Regions from separate parts of the Homo sapiens genome. Here region 1 is linked to region 2. The links are contacts of gene promoters, found by promoter capture Hi-C in human tissues and cell types (Jung and others, 2019). All regions are on one chromosome and are shown on one strand. Each heading gives the region's core, a stretch centred on a gene start or on the middle of the fragment in contact. The rest is flanking DNA. Distances are from core to core; before and after follow the strand shown. Region 1 overlaps UBAP2 (ubiquitin associated protein 2). Region 2 holds the start of UBAP2 (ubiquitin associated protein 2).

The links. The method cuts DNA at HindIII sites, captures the fragments that hold promoters and counts their contacts. A contact is called where the count stands out against the background at its distance.
Region 1: a fragment that was not itself captured here is called in contact with the fragment with the promoter of UBAP2 in region 2 in 1 of the 25 tissues and cell types used here (liver).

What each region holds. Positions count from the first base shown.
Region 1 is chr9:33,991,080-33,995,012 of GRCh38, forward strand. All of the region lies in intron 4 of UBAP2 (ubiquitin associated protein 2), which reads right to left. Among named protein-coding and RNA genes, the nearest start is that of SNORD121A, 40 kb to the left of the region's middle. The HindIII fragment of the contact is 5,057 bases long and covers 7-3,933 here.
Region 2 is chr9:34,046,832-34,050,633 of GRCh38, forward strand. It overlaps UBAP2 (ubiquitin associated protein 2), which reads right to left and starts at 2,056. Exons shown (of 29, transcript NM_001370062.2): 1 at 1,994-2,056. It also overlaps the pseudogene RN7SKP114. RefSeq lists enhancers at 1,166-2,022, 2,023-2,878, 2,159-2,688, 2,879-3,735, 3,736-3,802 and silencers at 1,839-1,888, 2,039-2,128. The HindIII fragment of the contact is 41,306 bases long and covers 1-3,802 here.

The DNA of each region.
Region 1 (3,933 bases), core at 1,285-3,784, 55 kb before region 2:
TTGGAGACTATCCTGGCCAACATTGTGAAACTCTTATCTCTACTAAAAATACAAAAATTAGCTGAGAGTGGTGGCAGGCACCTGTAATCCCAGCTACTCAGGAGGCTGAGGCAGGAGAATCAATTGAACCTAGAAGGCTTGAACCTGGGAGGTGGAGGTTGCAGTGAGCCAAGATCACACCACTGCACTCCAGCCTGGGTGACAGAGCGAGACTCTGTATCAAAAATAATAATAATAATAACGTAAGAATTGTTCAAACATTTATGTGCAGACAAAATGATCAACAGCATAAAAGGAGGGGAGGCGGATTCCCAAAATATCAAATTCAGGAGACTAAGTAGTCTAGTGTATCCATAAATGGAGCAGTATGTAGCCATTTTACCAGTTACATAGGTACATATAGAAAGAGGTCCTTGATAGAAAAAGCAAGCTATCAGCAAACAGCATATAGAATTACATTTTTTAGTTCAAATAGGAGCCTATGTACTTACTGAAGGAAGAGGTATAAGTCATTATTTAAGTGAGGATGTTTAATTTGATTTAATCTTTAATATTTTTCTGCATTTCTTTTCTAATTAAACAATAAAGCTTATCTATGCCAGAGAAAATAATGCCCACACTGAACAAACTCAATTTATTATGTTTGCTAATATGAAAATACTAGACAACTGTGTAAAACAGAATCCAGTCCTCTTAGGTTAGAATACAAAAAGTAAATTCCAGAGGTCCTGGAAAAATCATCCCAGAAGAGTTGGCATAAAGTGTATGTATACACAATGTACATCTTTACACAGCCTCGCCGAAAGGTACTCTATCTTTATAAAGGGGCCAGCTGTCTTTGTAAAACATCTGAGAAACACTTTACCCCATTTCATATAGCAAATGATACCCTGGCCAGGCACGGTGGCTCACACCTGTAATCCCAGCACTTTGGGAGCCCAAGGTGGGCAGATCATGAGGTCAGGAGTTCCAGACCACCCTGGCCAACATGGTGAAACCCCATCTCTACTAAACATACAAAAATTAGCAGCCGGGTGCAGTGGCTCATGCCTGTAATCCCACCACTTTGGGAGGCTGAGCGGGTGGATCACCTGAGGTTGGGAGTTCAAGACCAGCCTGACCAACATGGAGAAACCCCATCTCTACTAAAAATACAAAATTAGCCGGGCGTGGTGGCGCATTCCTGTAATCCCAGCTACTCGGGAGGCTGAGGCGGAAGAATCGCTTGAACCCGGGAGGCAGGAGGTTGTGGTGAGCCGAGATCACGCCATTACTCTCCAGCCTGGTCAACAAGAGCAAAACTCCATCTCAAAAAAAAAAAAAAAAAAAAATTAGCCAGGCGTGGTGGCACATGTCTGTAATCCCAGCTACTCAGAAGGCTGAGGCAGGAGAACTGCTTGAACCTGGGAGGCAGAGGTTGCAGTGAGCTGAGATCATGCCATTGCACTCCAGCCTGGGTGACAGCGCAAGACTCCCATCTCAAAAAAATAAAAATAAAAAAAAGATACCCTCCCCATCCTACTGCCCCTCAAGCAAAGTCTTGGTTTATGAGCTCTACAAAGACAACTTATCGGGCGGAGGGGGGGGGGCACAAATAGGGAAAAGAACCTTTAAGAAGCAATCTTTACAATACCATAGTAACTGCTAAAAAGATTACTGTGTATTTTGCTGAAGTCTGCAAAGTATACACACATGCATACTTTAAAAAGTTAACCAAGTAATTATGGAGGATTTCCAAGAGAATTTCTGGCAACCTCTGTTATCGGTATTTTGCTAGTTGCAGAACAGGTCTGAAGAAACTCTAAGAGGAGAGGTCCTCCCAGCCACCACATAATAATCAGAACAGCAGTCTTCGAAGCCAGCTAGTTCAAAAATTACTCTCCCACCACTTTGCCTTTGCCAAAAACTACCAACACAAACAACTTACTAAAAAGAGTTAAGTACATTAATTCAAGAGACCGATACTTCAAAACAATTTTGTCACATCAACCAAACATTATGATGAAACAAAAAGTTCAGTACTTATGTTCAATATCTTCCTTTGTGACAGATATACTTACATAAGAAAAAATAAATTTATCCTTAAAAACATCATGGACGATTCCACTTAACACCTTTTCCAAGTAATAATTTTGTTTCAGCACAGAGGAAGGTTAGATAATAGGAAAAGAATCGTTTGCCTTCATGCTCTTGCTCCTAGCAACATCACAGTGTTTATATTCTGTCAACCCTACTCCAATTAACTCTATCTCAGTCAAGGGAAGATAATCAAAGCTGTTTAGCCATAGGTGCTGCAGATGGCAACTAGGTAAGAGATGAGGCAAACAGTATGAGAGACAAGATGTACCAGAGAGTGGTCCTCAACAAACCAGGGTTTCAAAGACTCCAGCCTGAGCAACATAGAAACACAGAGACCCCCTAACTCTACAAAATATAAAAATGATTAGCCAAGCGTAGTGGCATGCGCCTGTGGTCCCGGCTACTCGGCAGGCTGGAGGATGGCATAAGCCCGGGAGGTCGAGGCTGTAGTAAACCGTGATGGCACCACTGCACTCTAGCCTGGGCAACGGAGTGAGACCCTGTCTTAATAAAAAACCCAAAACACCAAACAACTAAAACAAAGACTTTACCTCTACTTCTGTCCCCCACAGCCCACTCAGCCCTGAACAAGTGTATTCTTTCACAACTATATTCAGAACTTCATTTGCTATTTTCTTATCTTTGAAGAAAACAAGAAGTCAGATATAGCCCACACTATAAAATCGTTCAAGAGGTAACCAAAGAGGTGTTCTTCATGAAAAGTTCAGCTTTGCTTTCTTTTTTTTTTTTTTTTGAGACCGAGTCTCGCACTGTCGCCTGGGCTGGAGTGCAATGCCGCGATCTCGGCTCACTACAACCTCTGCTTCCCGGGTTCAAGCAATTCTCCTGCCTCAGCCGCCTGAGTAGCTGGGATTGCAGGCGCCCACCACCACACCTGGCTAATTTTTTGTATTTTTAGTAGACATGGGGTTTCGCCATGTTGACCAGGCTGGTCTCAAACTCCTGACCTCGTGATCTGCCCACCTAGGCCTTCCAAAGTGCTGGGATTACAGGCATGAGCCGCAGTGCCCAGTCAGTCTTACTTTCTAATACATAGCCCAGAACCAGCTCCTTCAGGTTCGGTCCCAAAGGAGGAGGGGGTGTTAAAACTCAAAACAGAAAGAGAAAACTGGACATTTAAAACTTAAAAATTCACCAAACTACCAGAGAAAAGGAATTAAATCTGCTGGAGCTAAAGGAAAGGCAACAAAAAATAGTGTCTGGACTTATCTCTACCATAAAAAGATCCAAAAAGATCCTCTCCAGTGAACAATTTGGGTTATTTTGTTTATTCCCAAAGATTTTTTCTTTTTTTTTTTTTTCCCTAAACAAAGAGGGCGGTTAGGCTCTTCAGTTCACTTTGAAAATAACTGAAAGCCACTCTCTGCTGTACCCATTAGCGATAAGGTAAACAGATCCTCCATATTTTGCAAAACCCAGGATACTTAGTCCCAGGTCAGTAAACAAAAACTATTCAAAATTTTAATTTATCATATAATATGGTTTTCCCAAAAAAAAAAAATCACAAATTTGATGGTTTGTCTTGTGTACCAGTGTTCTCTTACATGGAATTTTACCAACAATTACTGCTACACTCAAACAGTGAAATCTTTTCCACATTAGTTAATTTTTACTTTAAAAGAATTCATTCTCTTTGTTTCACATCAACTAAAAACACAGTCATTTTAGCTTTCAGTTTCTCAGAGTTCATTTTTGTATTTCTTGTACCTAATGCAGCATGACCCTAAAATGAGACTTCAATTAAATCTGAACACTGACACGGTCAGTTTGTTTGTTTTAAATTTTCCAAGGAAAGGTAGTTATTGATGTGTTCATCTTTGTATCCTCTTTTAG
Region 2 (3,802 bases), core at 806-3,305:
CATTTCTCCCCATACAATAAAAGTCACTCAGGCTAATACTAAGAGAGACACTCCTGGTGATCACTACATAGACTGCACTAGTAACCAGGAAAGGGAAGCAGAGGTGTTATTGTTGTTCCAATATAGTTCTAAAGGCAACTCCATGTGACTACTGCTGATCCAGCCCACATTTAAAGGGAGGACAGAGGAAACCAGAGCAGCAGGAAACAGGCAAGAGAGGCAATTACCACAACCCTTTCCCATGGCCTCATTCTCTCCCATGCCACCACTTTCGGGCATATTTCAATCACAACAAAAACCTTCCTTCTCTGAAAGGTTTCATAATTATTGAGGGTGAGAGGCAACAGGGAAGCAAATGGGGGAAATCAGCGCTGTGGGAAAATCTCTCGTCACACGTATCAACTAGCCATAAGTAGGAAAATCAGGAGTATGCTGGCAGCAAGCAAAAGGGCAGTTTGGGAAACTAATCACTTCTGCCTAATGATAAGAGAAGCCTTCAAAGCAATGGAAGGACAACCCTAGCGAAGGGGCTCCACAGGTGAGTGTATTGAAGGAAACTATCATCTCCAGGGAGTGGAATACATTCCCTTTCCTGAGGTAAAAGGGGAACACACCAATGTAGGATACGGGAGAGCTTAGGTATCATGTTCAACTTCCTTCCACCTTTCACAAACTGGCACTAAAACGGATACACAATTCACAGTGAAAAGTGAGGAATGCAATAACTAGTCGCATACCCCTTGTTGAAAAAAGTGCTGTCACAACGGAAGAGGAATATAAGAACTGGGTTCACCCAAGAAATTATATGCCCTTCAAATAAAAGATAATCTTTGGATACCTTATGGAGACCTGAAAAAACCCTCAACTAGCTGAGCACCGTGGTGCACACTGTAATCCCAGATACTCAGGAGGCTGAGGTGAAAGAATCGCTTAAACCCAGGAGCTGGAGGCCAGCCTGGGCAACATATGGAGACCATATCTCTAAAATTAATAGTAATTTTTTAAAATCTCTCAACTGTTAGGATACACTGGTGCTGTAGAAAGACAATAAGCCTAAATACTGGCAAACCATATACCTTCCTTGAATGTGAGGTAAAAACAATATCCAATAGAAGTGGTAGTAAATGACTGGATTACATCAAACAGGAAATAACAGTAATAATGATGGGATCAACCCCTAAAGCGAGCAAGCATTAGAGACCAGAGTGGTGACAGTTGAGATGCGTGGGCAACTAATTAGACTAAAAACTCAGGGGAAAATGTGGAAAAGCCGAGTGGGAAAGTGATTCAGAGGCAAACAACTGAGTTGTAATGCACCAATGAAAGAATAACATTTTGAGTATGTATTATTAACAGAGAGAGCTTTGCCGTTTACAAAGCGCTCAAAAACCTACATTAAATAATGAACTGTGATATAACCAGACTACAGGAACGGCGGGTGTGGAGGAAAACTGAGTCCCAATTGAGACCAATGCCCTACAGAATTGAAAAGAAGTAGAACTGAACTGTGACTCCGGGTAAGCCAGGAAAGGTTAGAGAGCGCATAAGTTGGGGCTATAACAGGGCCAGTCCCAAGACTAGCTACGGGCGTGAAAGCGGAAAGGTGATGAGATGGGACCGACAGCGTGGCGGGGAAGCTCCAGTCTACTGGCAGGCACCGAGGTGGGAGAGAAAACCACACCCTCCAGGGCAGAAACCCGAAAGGGGGGAGGGGAGGCACCCCTGGGGCTGGGTGGGGCCCAGCCGACCTGGACGGGGGAAAGTAGGAAGAAGCACAGGGCAACGTGAGGGGAAGAGGAAGGAGGGAGCCCGGGCCTGGACGTAGAGGGACCGTGGACCTGGCGAGTGAAGCTCGGCCCGGTCCTCACGGGTGGGCGCCGGGGCAGTCTGCAGGCGGTGGGGTTTCAGACGAGCTGAACCCAGAATTAGAAAGCACACGCTGCAGCGCTCAGGGCCCTGGAAGAGGGAAGGAGAGGGAGAGGATGGCAATTACCGCTGCTGCTCTCGGAGGACCCAAGACCCGCTGCCGCCGCCGCCGCTCGTTACCTGCCAATGTGCCTCTTACAAAGCGGCGGCGGCGGCACAGGCTGCCCAACCCGTCACGTGACCTCGCGTCACGGGCGAAGGAGGAGCCACAACACGTCGCTCGTGCGCGGCTTCAGAGTCAGCCTAGGCGGCGCGCGGCCTCTTCCAGCCACCACCTCCACCCCAACCCCGCGAAGCCAACCGCGTGGAGGTGGGGACCACAGAAAGGAACAAATAAGGGAGACTTGATAATATGTATTGTACTCGGAGTCATCAGGAGAGTATTACCCACCGCATACAAGGTGCCCACAACTGCAGCTCGTCGTCGCGCCGTGATGACCTCACAAAGCACCACAGGTTACTCCCCTGTGGCCGCCCTGTGCTCATCACGTGATGTGGTCCAACCACTCAGGGCAAGCCTGGCCTCCCAAATGTTGCACGAGGGGACCACGACTCCCAACATGCTGCACAGCCAAGGCGACCCCTACCGCAGCCTTTCTCCAGCGGGCTTCTAGACGAACCCCCTAGAGACCTTAGAGCCGAGGGAAGGCCGGGACGGAAAGCGGACTAAGCTGGCTTGAAGGACTAATACCATTGGATGCCGCCCGCCATGTGGCGGAGCGTGGTGCCTGCTGGGAGGTGTAGTCCTGGCGGGGGGTGGGGTTCCGCTCCCACGTTCCTGGGCTCGCTCTGCGCCCTGCCCCCTGCGCGGGAAAACGCCAACGGCTAGCAGCGAGAGCCTCGGCAAGGCGGAAGGTGCGCCCACTTTTAGTCTTTTTCAGTGCGGTTTTACTTTTGCCCTCCCAAGCCCCTTCTGGGTGAAAAGACTAGAATCTACTGAACGCCTACTCCAAGTCAGCCGTTTATTTCTGTTATATCATATAATCAACTCCTTGAGTCCAGGATTTTCCCTATTTAAGGATTTAAAAAAAGAACCTTAGAGTTGTTTGTTGACCGAAGAGACCCAGGTTTTCTGTCTTTAGAAAATTAATGACCTCCTCTCAATAGGATCTGACCTGTTGTCAACTCCAAGAATTACGAATAAATAAGATGATGGTTTATAATTGTAGCATGGTGTTTTAAAGTATTTTCCATTTACTGGCCTGTTTGGATGTGAGGGCGTTCTGGCTATCTTGTCACCCCATAGATCGCCAGGGCTGATTCGGCTGATCTGGCTGTCTAGGCGGGTGGCCCCTTCCTCCCGCACCTCTCCATGTGCGTCCCTCCCGAAGCTGCATATTCGGTCGAAAAGGAGGAGCATCCCCCATAGAAGAGGACAAGTCAAGGATATAGGAGTAGCTGCACGCCCGTGTTAACAAGCTCTCAAGGTCCTCTAAACAAGCTCTCAAGGTCTACTTACTGGCCTGTTTTATCCCAAGCTAGTTACATACAAGGACTTTGCAGTCCCGGCATGCCTTATCTCAATTGGAGCTTTCCTCTGTAATAACACTTCACCGGCTTGTGAAAATTAAATGAGATTATGTAAAATGCCTGCTTGACACATAATAAACCCTCAGTAAGTATCAGTAATCATTTTCACACTCTACCCATCGGGCCCAAAAGGTCTAAGTAAGGTAGAAAGGGGAAATTAGCTTATACTGAACTTTGTACAGGGCACTATGCTAATTACTAATTTGCTAGTTATTAAGTAAAACAATTGACATCTTAAACAGCCCTATCTAGTTCAAATAAAGCCTTTGTTATTCATCTGAATTAAAGAATGCTGCCGGGCGTGGTGGCTCACACCTGTAATCTCAGCACTTTGGGAGCCGGAGGA